Regions from separate parts of the Homo sapiens genome. Here region 2 is linked to region 1. The links are contacts of gene promoters, found by promoter capture Hi-C in blood cells and fetal thymus (Javierre and others, 2016). All regions are on one chromosome and are shown on one strand. Each heading gives the region's core, a stretch centred on a gene start or on the middle of the fragment in contact. The rest is flanking DNA. Distances are from core to core; before and after follow the strand shown. Region 1 holds the start of WDR17 (WD repeat domain 17). Region 2 overlaps WDR17 (WD repeat domain 17).

What was found. The method cuts DNA at HindIII sites, captures the fragments that hold promoters and counts their contacts. A CHiCAGO score of 5 or more calls a contact.
Region 2: a contact is called between a fragment that was not itself captured here and the fragment with the promoter of WDR17 in region 1, in 1 of 17 cell types (monocytes). The highest score is 5.3, in monocytes.

Annotation. Positions count from the first base shown.
Region 1 is chr4:176,063,342-176,067,313 of GRCh38, forward strand. WDR17 (WD repeat domain 17) reads left to right here and starts at 2,500. Exons shown (of 29, transcript NM_181265.4): 1 at 2,500-2,738. RefSeq lists a silencer at 2,376-2,755. The HindIII fragment of the contact is 5,440 bases long and covers 1,354-3,972 here.
Region 2 is chr4:176,115,282-176,119,618 of GRCh38, forward strand. WDR17 (WD repeat domain 17) reads left to right here. Exons shown (of 29, transcript NM_181265.4): 3 at 515-698. Among named protein-coding and RNA genes, the nearest start is that of WDR17, 52 kb to the left of the region's middle. The HindIII fragment of the contact is 938 bases long and covers 2,533-3,470 here.

The sequences.
Region 1 (3,972 bases), core at 1,250-3,749:
TAATGATTGCCCTGAAAATGTCAGTCAGCCTAAGTGACTGACAATTTTTTCTTTGTGAGGTGAGTATATGACATTAAATACTGGTTGAATAAAAGAATAAAAAATCAGAGTAAAGAGATCTTTGTTTTATAAATTAGGTATATTGTTCCTCTAGATCTAATCTAACTATAGTTGTGATTATTTAAATCTGTTCAAAAGGAATGAACTAAATTCTGGTAAAGGAATAAGAGTCCTGAACTGGGAGACCGGGATCACTCTATCAAAATCTGCTGCTAATATGACTGGAGATTTAAACACCTTCATCTTTAAATTATGAGTGCACAACTAGATAATTTCAGTTGTCTCATTCAATTTTATGTTTCTTTCTTTTTCCTTTTTCTTTTTTTTCTTTTTTTTTTTTGAGACGGAGTCTCACTCTTGTCACCCAGGCTAAAGTGCAGTGGCGCAATCTCCGCCTTCTGGGTTCACGCCATTCTCCTGCCTCAGCCTGCCGAGGACCTGGAAGTACAGGTGCCCGCCACCACGCCCAGCTCATCTTGTATTTTAGTAGGAACGGGGTTTCACCACCACGCTGCCGTCAAACTCCTGACTTCAGGTGATCCGCCCACCTCGGCCTTCCAAAGTGCTGGGATTACGGGAGTGAAACACCGCGCCCGGCCGGTTTTTTGTTTCTTAACTGGAGAGCTGGAGCCATTATGAGCAAAATAAACATAAAAGATTTTTTCCGTCCAACCGATGGACTAAGCTAGACGTTGTATCTTCAGCATTTTCTCTTCATGTACACCATTGACTATTCAGCACTATACCTAGCAAATATCAGTCATAAATGAAAACTATAGTCTGTTTTCACAGAAATGTTTCTTGTGATTTTCCCTCTTCGCTATTCTTATTTTCATTGTCTTAACTCAGGTCATCAGCATCTTTTCCCATGAACTACTGAATTTTTCTCCTAACAGACCATGTTCTTCATCTTCCTGCATCCCATGTATCTCCAATGTTTCCAAGGTGTCTTTCTTGATGAAAAAGCACTGATTTTATAAACTTCAATCTCTTCCTTTGGTTTAGAGGTTAAAGCCTAACCCATATATAGAATTCTGCATCTTTCCCAATCAAGTTTTCTTATTTTTCTAGTACAGTCTTTTGCCAATTTCCATCTTCCTTCTTATCTTTGGATTCACATCCCCAACTCCGGAGAAGGCAAAAACATCAAATTTATTTACATCAATCGTTTATTTTTTCCCACTTTATGCTTTTGGCAATGCTGCTCCTGCTGCATAGTATACACTTTCCCCTTTTTATCAGGTGAAATTCTACCTATTTATAAGTCCCTGCTCAAATACTAATCATATTGAAAGCTTCTCTGAATACCTTGGAAGAAAAAGTTCTGCCTCCCTCATCTGAAATCATCTCATAGCACTTTTATGTAACCCTATTTTAGTACTTAACACATTGAGTTATATTTAGTTATTGCCCTTATACTTTCTCTGGTAGATTATGTGCTAATTTCTTTCTTTCTTTATCCATCTATCCATCAAGAATTAATTGAAGACCTGCTATTCATCAGATACTTTGTTAGAATATAGGGGACGGAGTTGTAAGAACTGATTTTAGCTTTAACAAGTTTATTCTTTATATGGAAATCCAACATTTAAGTTAATTTTAATTTACAATATAGAATATTGAGTGCTGTGGTAGGTACTCGTCTCTGCAGAGAATATTTTGGAAAAAAGGAGCATTAAAATCTACTGCATAGGAAGGTAAGAATTAGGCCCAGGGACTTTCTCTGGTTGAGGTCGACCATTCATTTATTAACTATTTAGAGTGGAGTATAATTAATTCTCGATAGATGTCATTAAATACACTTTGTTTCGAGTACGTCGAGGCTTATTCTCTCTAGTGTGTTGGATAAAGGCCACAGGTAGTGAAGATATTTCAGAGATGTGAAGAATCCAGTAGGAATGACAACATCCAGCACTTCCATTCAACCAGATCCCACAGGGAAAATGTCAGTTTTGTGAAGGCAGATACATTAACCACATACAACTCGATTAATATAAACAAATAATCTTATCCATTGAGCTCTCCCACAGACCTTCTTGGGCCCAATCAGACAATAATGAAGTGCAGGCGAGACAGCATTCTGCACTCACATTCCAGGCACTGGTTCAAGTCCCTCCTCCAGGTCCCTCAAGAAAGAGACAGGATGACTGACTTACTGTATATTTGACTCATTTTCCTAGAAAGTGCAGACTCGCTATAAAATGTGTTAGGTGGTGAGAACGCTGATGGTTCACCGTTTTCCTCCACTTTCAGCCTCAGTGCAAACCCTCTGCCCAAAGCCTCGCTCCAGTACGGAGGAGCTGCGCCTTCAACACACTTTCTCTGTTGCCAGGTAACCACTTCTCCCTCAGCCTAGTCTCCAAGGGTCACGAGCCACTTCCGCCTCCCCCTCTCGGGCGCTCCAATCAGCGACCTGTGTAGCTGTCACGTGGGCCTCTGGGGCAGACCCTGGAGATCGGGCTCGCGGCGCCTTCCATCGTGGCTCCGCGCTGGGGCTTGCGGAGCACGCTTCCCGCCCCTCGGAGCCCGCGGGCCCGGCCGCCCCGCCCCCGGGCGCCCTGAGCGAGCAGGCGGGGAGGGCGGGGAGGGTCCGCGCGTTGGTGGTGCTCGCCTCGCAGCTGCGCCCGCCGGCTTCAGCACCTTCCGCTGTCCGCCGCTGCAGCCGCCTCCTCCTCCAGGTAAGAAGCCGGTGGGGCCGCAGAGATACCAAGGCAAGCTCAGGATTGATGTGGGTGATGCTGGAACTGTCGCGGCGTCATGCGAGAGGGGCTCTGACCTCCCTGTGATCGCGGACCAGGGTAATGTACGTCCTGCAGGGCTTTGCACACCATGGTGCCTGATGAGATAATCAACTGAGTTTTAGAGCCACACACCTGATTCTTACAAGGCACAGCAAGCAGCGAATATTTATGTATCTAAACTACCATTGCAGTGTAAACTGTGGACATTTCGAGGGACATTGTTTTATTTTTATGGCTATTAAGTATATGTCTAGAGCCTAGGTTGCTGTTCTCATCCCTCCGCCGGCCAGACACTTCTGTATAGATCATTTACCCCTTTGAAGATGGACTTATTAGTAGGGTTGTACTAAGAAAGGTTTGAGTAAAAAGGAAATGCGTTCCAGAAAAAAGACGGTATTGGATATAAGGCAGGTATACTATTTATTAAGTAGATCGTAAAATAGAATCTTTGCTGTCCTCCCCTCTCCAAAATCAGACTTGTTTTGCTTGCAAAGATTGAAAGGAACAAACAATTTAAGGAGACTTTTTAAATATATTAATTAAAAGCAATTGATTCGAATGAAAAGTAATGAAAAGTCCGACCATGCATCAAAAATAAATTATTTTGCATATTAATATATACATATATACTATATATATTTAACAAGGGTTTGAAGAGAGATACTACATTTCTGAATCTTTCATAAATACCCTTTAGAGAAAACTATCAAAAAAACACAAGTTCGTTGTAAAAGGATACGAAACGGCCAAAGCCCAACAATGTGAGATTATAGTTGCCGTTCTTAGCACTCTAATAACATTTCTGCGTTGTAAAAATTAGAAAATAAATGACAATGAATTTATGAGAATTTATAAATTTGAACTCCACAAGAGTTTAAGCATTAATTTATTTGTAGATTTATGCCTTATCATTACCCTGCTTGCCAGGAGCTGATGCTGGGCGGGTGGTGAAACAAACTCTGTGGAGAAAGCACTCTTACATCCTTTTGAGATTCTGCCTCACTGGCCTAAGTGTTCAAGAAAATGGATATAGTTATATCTAACTGTTTTGAAGGCAGACGTCTGAGATAGGTGGTCTGAGAACCTTTCCCCTCCTATCATCTAAAATTAAATATAGTTATTAAGTGCTTTTGAAAAGTTGTCAATTCGTTAATATTTTGGGAAACATCCT
Region 2 (4,337 bases), core at 1,752-4,251, 52 kb after region 1:
GTATAAAAACACAATATAATGTCCCATCCAAAAAAAACAATAAAATAAAAAGAGTGAATGACATCATTGCTCTGGAAGCTTTGGACATCTTAATAGTGTAATAATGAGCAGTTGGTGTATTTAACCCAAATTTTCTTGATTCAAGTATAAGTGAAAAATTGCAGAAAAAAATATTCCAAAACCAAGGGTTTTTTCTTCTCATAAAAAGATATAGCTATGGAAAATATAATAAAGCTCTAAATTATTATGCATATTTAAATGTGAAACATTTATTTTTACTTGTTTTTAAAATGGATATGTTTTTATTCTCTCAGTTTTTAATGTTTTTTTTTAGCTGGTTCAATATTCATGAATACACTTGAATGTAGACCAAGGCTTGAAATATGTTCATATCTTTATTATTAGGTGAAATAATTTTCCTGTATGTAGCTTTAGTTTTGTGTAATGTGAATATTAACAGTGTATTATCTTAAAAAGGAGCACTAAAATATTTTATTTATATATTTTGTTTTAGTTGGATCACCGTTATAATGAATTCAAACTTCACGCAATTATGTCTGAACATAAAAAAACAATCACAGCAATTTCTTGGTGTCCACATAATCCTGATCTGTTTGCAAGTGGCAGTACTGATAATTTAGTGATCATTTGGAATGTTGCAGAACAAAAAGTCATTGCTAAACTCGACAGTACAAAAGGTATAATTACAACTGGGATTTATTTTATGGAATAAAATATTTTTATTTCAACAAGCACTATCAATATTATTAGTTCAGCTTTTAAAATGTTGTTTTCAAACTTCTTAATGGTAATCTGTATAAGAAATAAATTTCACATAATGACTCATGCCCATAGGTACAAAGCTGAAACAAAATTTCATGAAATAATTATACGTAGAACATATGATCGACTAAAAACATAGCCAATACCAAATAATTTTATTAATGTTTAAATATAATGTAAGAATTTCCAAAATAAATATAAAAATAATAATCAGAAAGATTTTGTTATTGAGACAAGTAACAAGCCTTGGCTGTTCATTACTCTATTCCAACCTTTAAATTACAAAGAAAGTATTATGCATATATTTGATGCATTGTTAAGCTGGTTTCATGCCTTTATTTTTAATTTGGTCAAGGTAGAACATCCTCATTCACATAAATTGGACTTTATGAATTGGAATAATAGCATTATACTCTTTCTACTTAGAATTGGGAACTCGCATTTAATCTTATCCCATCATAATGGTAAAGTTAAGTAATAATTATTCTGTGTTCAGTGTCACAATAATTAACTCTCTTTTTGAGCACCATATTTAGCTCAATTGATTATGGTTTTGAAAGCTACTGCTAGATATGTTTTTCAATTCAGCTTCTTCTCTAAAAATAATTGTTATAAATTTGAGATATAAAACTGGACATGACAATCTCACTAACCTTATTTTGTTCAAATTTCTTTGTAATAGTCTAAGGCAAAAATACTGGGAATTTATAGGCAATTATCTTTAAATTTTGTTTCCATAATAATAGTAAAATAATATCTTTTGTAACTTTTAGACATATTTGATATTTTTAGTATTTTGGTTTGTCTTTTCAAATTTAGGTCATTAAGAATGCTTAAAATATCAGTGTAATACATAAATTTTATTACTCAACTGTTAAAGATATTTGTCAAATGAAGTTAATTTTCAACTAGAAGTATATGGATCTCATTCCCAAGTTTATGTACCCTGTTTTTTATTTTTACTTAGAACAACCAATGTATTAGACAGTGAGTAATGTTTGCCCCAATCTCTGAACAAAATATTGTAAAAAGTCAGCTATTCGGTGAGCTTCCATTAATGTAATTAGCAATTTTTCTTAAGGCTTTCCATGAGAAAAAAACAAATTATTTTGGCACAATGCTTTGTGATATATAAATTGTGATTGATGGCCTCAATTAAGACTTTTCATATCTCCCCATGTTTTCTGGTCATATCTGTTTGTCCAGCAATCACAAATTCTATAGGTTACTCCATTACTGTTTATATTGATTGATAATGCATTTCCAAGTACTTTAAATCCAGCTTTGTGTGAGATTAATTTTAAATAACACAACAAATTTTTCTTGAAATTCTTTCCATATTGTATGTGCCATAAACTAAAATGTTGCACGATATTATTGTTCTCGTAAAGATGTAACACAAAGTCAACGTTAGGTTATAACTGCATATAATAAACATAAATTCTAAATGTTTTGCAGAAGTAATGATTAATTTTATTATCACCTAGTGTATCCATGGATTTATCATCAGACACTATATACATCACATCCATTCATGGGGGAAGATTTTATTTATTCATCAGCTATATGCACCATAGTTTCTTTTGTCACTGGATATACAACTAAATAATACTTTCTAATTAACAGTCCCAGAATGATGAGATAATTGTGGAAAGCTTTTGGCAAATTTTTCATGTTTTTCCTTTCTTTGAAAATTTTCAGCTATCAATATCTCCCTCATCCAAATGTCTTCTTAATTTGAAGATTGAAAGCTTTGCTATTTTATTTGCAAAAAAATTATGACTATTTTTGGTGATTTCCATCTTAAGTAACACTTTTGAAATGTTTTAGGCTTATTTTTCTTTTTAGAATCCAGCTTAAGCAAAGTAGAAATTTGCATTAAGTGAACTTTTTTTTTCAACTTCCAAATACAGTTGTTGAATTTGATCTTGCCTCTGTATTTTTACTTCTTCTTCCTTTTGTTTCTAATAATCTAACAATCCATTTAAATGAAAATGCATATTAGTTTTTCCAAATGTAAAATGTAAAAATTGTCACCAACTTGAAAAAGTCACTTTATGTCACAGTGGATAATAATACTACCTACCTATCTCAGAATAGTGTTGGGAGAATTAAATTGCAACACTCCTTGAAAGTGCTTGTACATAAGTCACTATAAAAGTGTTTTCTATTATTATTATATGACACTGTTTCTGGTCCTTTCGCTTTCCTTGCTGTCTTTCTCTAAATATACAGTCGGAGAACCAGTATTCTATTGTCTTTCCTCTACTGTGCTGTGGTGGTTTGATCCATACAGAGTACCTCATCTCTTTTTTGGGTAAATTCTACTTCTGTTAATGTATCCTAAAACCATATCAACTATTTTACTGGCGTTTTTCATGTATACATTCATTCATTCAGCAAATATTTATGGAGTCCTCATTATGGGTCAGGCCCTGAAGTAGGCATTAGGCTTTGTTTTTGCCTCTTGGAGCACATAGACTGTTAACACAAACTAAACTTACTGTCAATCAGCGAATTTCCACTCTGTGTCTTTGTTCATATCATTTTCTCTTCCTGGGAAATACTGCTTATTCCATGTATTTAAACTCTACCCCTCCTTCTAGGTATAATTCAAATCTAATTTCTTTCCAGGACAGTAGCACAGTGGTTTCTAAACCTTTCTGCATATCAAAATCATTTGATGAAGCTTGTTAAAAATAAATTCCTGTGAAACCTCGTCTCTACTAAAAATACAAAAAAAAAAATTAACCGGGCATGGTGGCGGGCGCCTGTAGTCCCAGCTACTCGGGAGGCTGAGGCAGGAGAATGGCATGAACCCGGGAGGCGGAGCTTGCAGTGAGCCGAGATTGCATCACTGCACTCCAGCCTGGGCAACAGAGCAAGACTCCGTCTCAAAAAATAATAATTATTATAAAATAAATAAATAAATAAATTCCTTGGCTCAAACTCCACATGATCTGATATGTTATATTCCATTTCATGATTTTGATGCAGCCAGCTAATATATCAGTGTTGGAAGATGTGCAATCTCTCTCTCATAAATTTCTCATAATACTTATTTTATATATGATTTATTTGATCACAATAGCAGGTATATTAACAATTAACTTTTATATTCCATCTTATTGATGGAATGTAAATGTACCTTTACATAAATGATTTTATTTCCTTGACTTTCATGTGAAATAAGTGGTCAGCTATTTTTATTGTTATCTCCATTTTATAGATGAGGAAACAGAAATTTAGAGAAATAAAATGACTTGTTTTTCTGAGGCAAGGCTTAGATTTGAATCTAAATTCCTGATAAGACATAGATTATAACATTAAGTCCATTGTTTTTAAATCCTTATAGTAGCATTTATATTTTTATTCACTAATCCCTGTCTCCCTAACACACATTTAAAATTCTCTAAAGCAGGAATCTTATCCCACACTACCTTGTATACCTAGAATGCCTAGAGGTCTTATATACAAATACACAGTAAGAATGTATTGCTCTAATCTTTAATATATAGTCTACTAAAATAAAAAAGTCTATAAATGTATTTGAC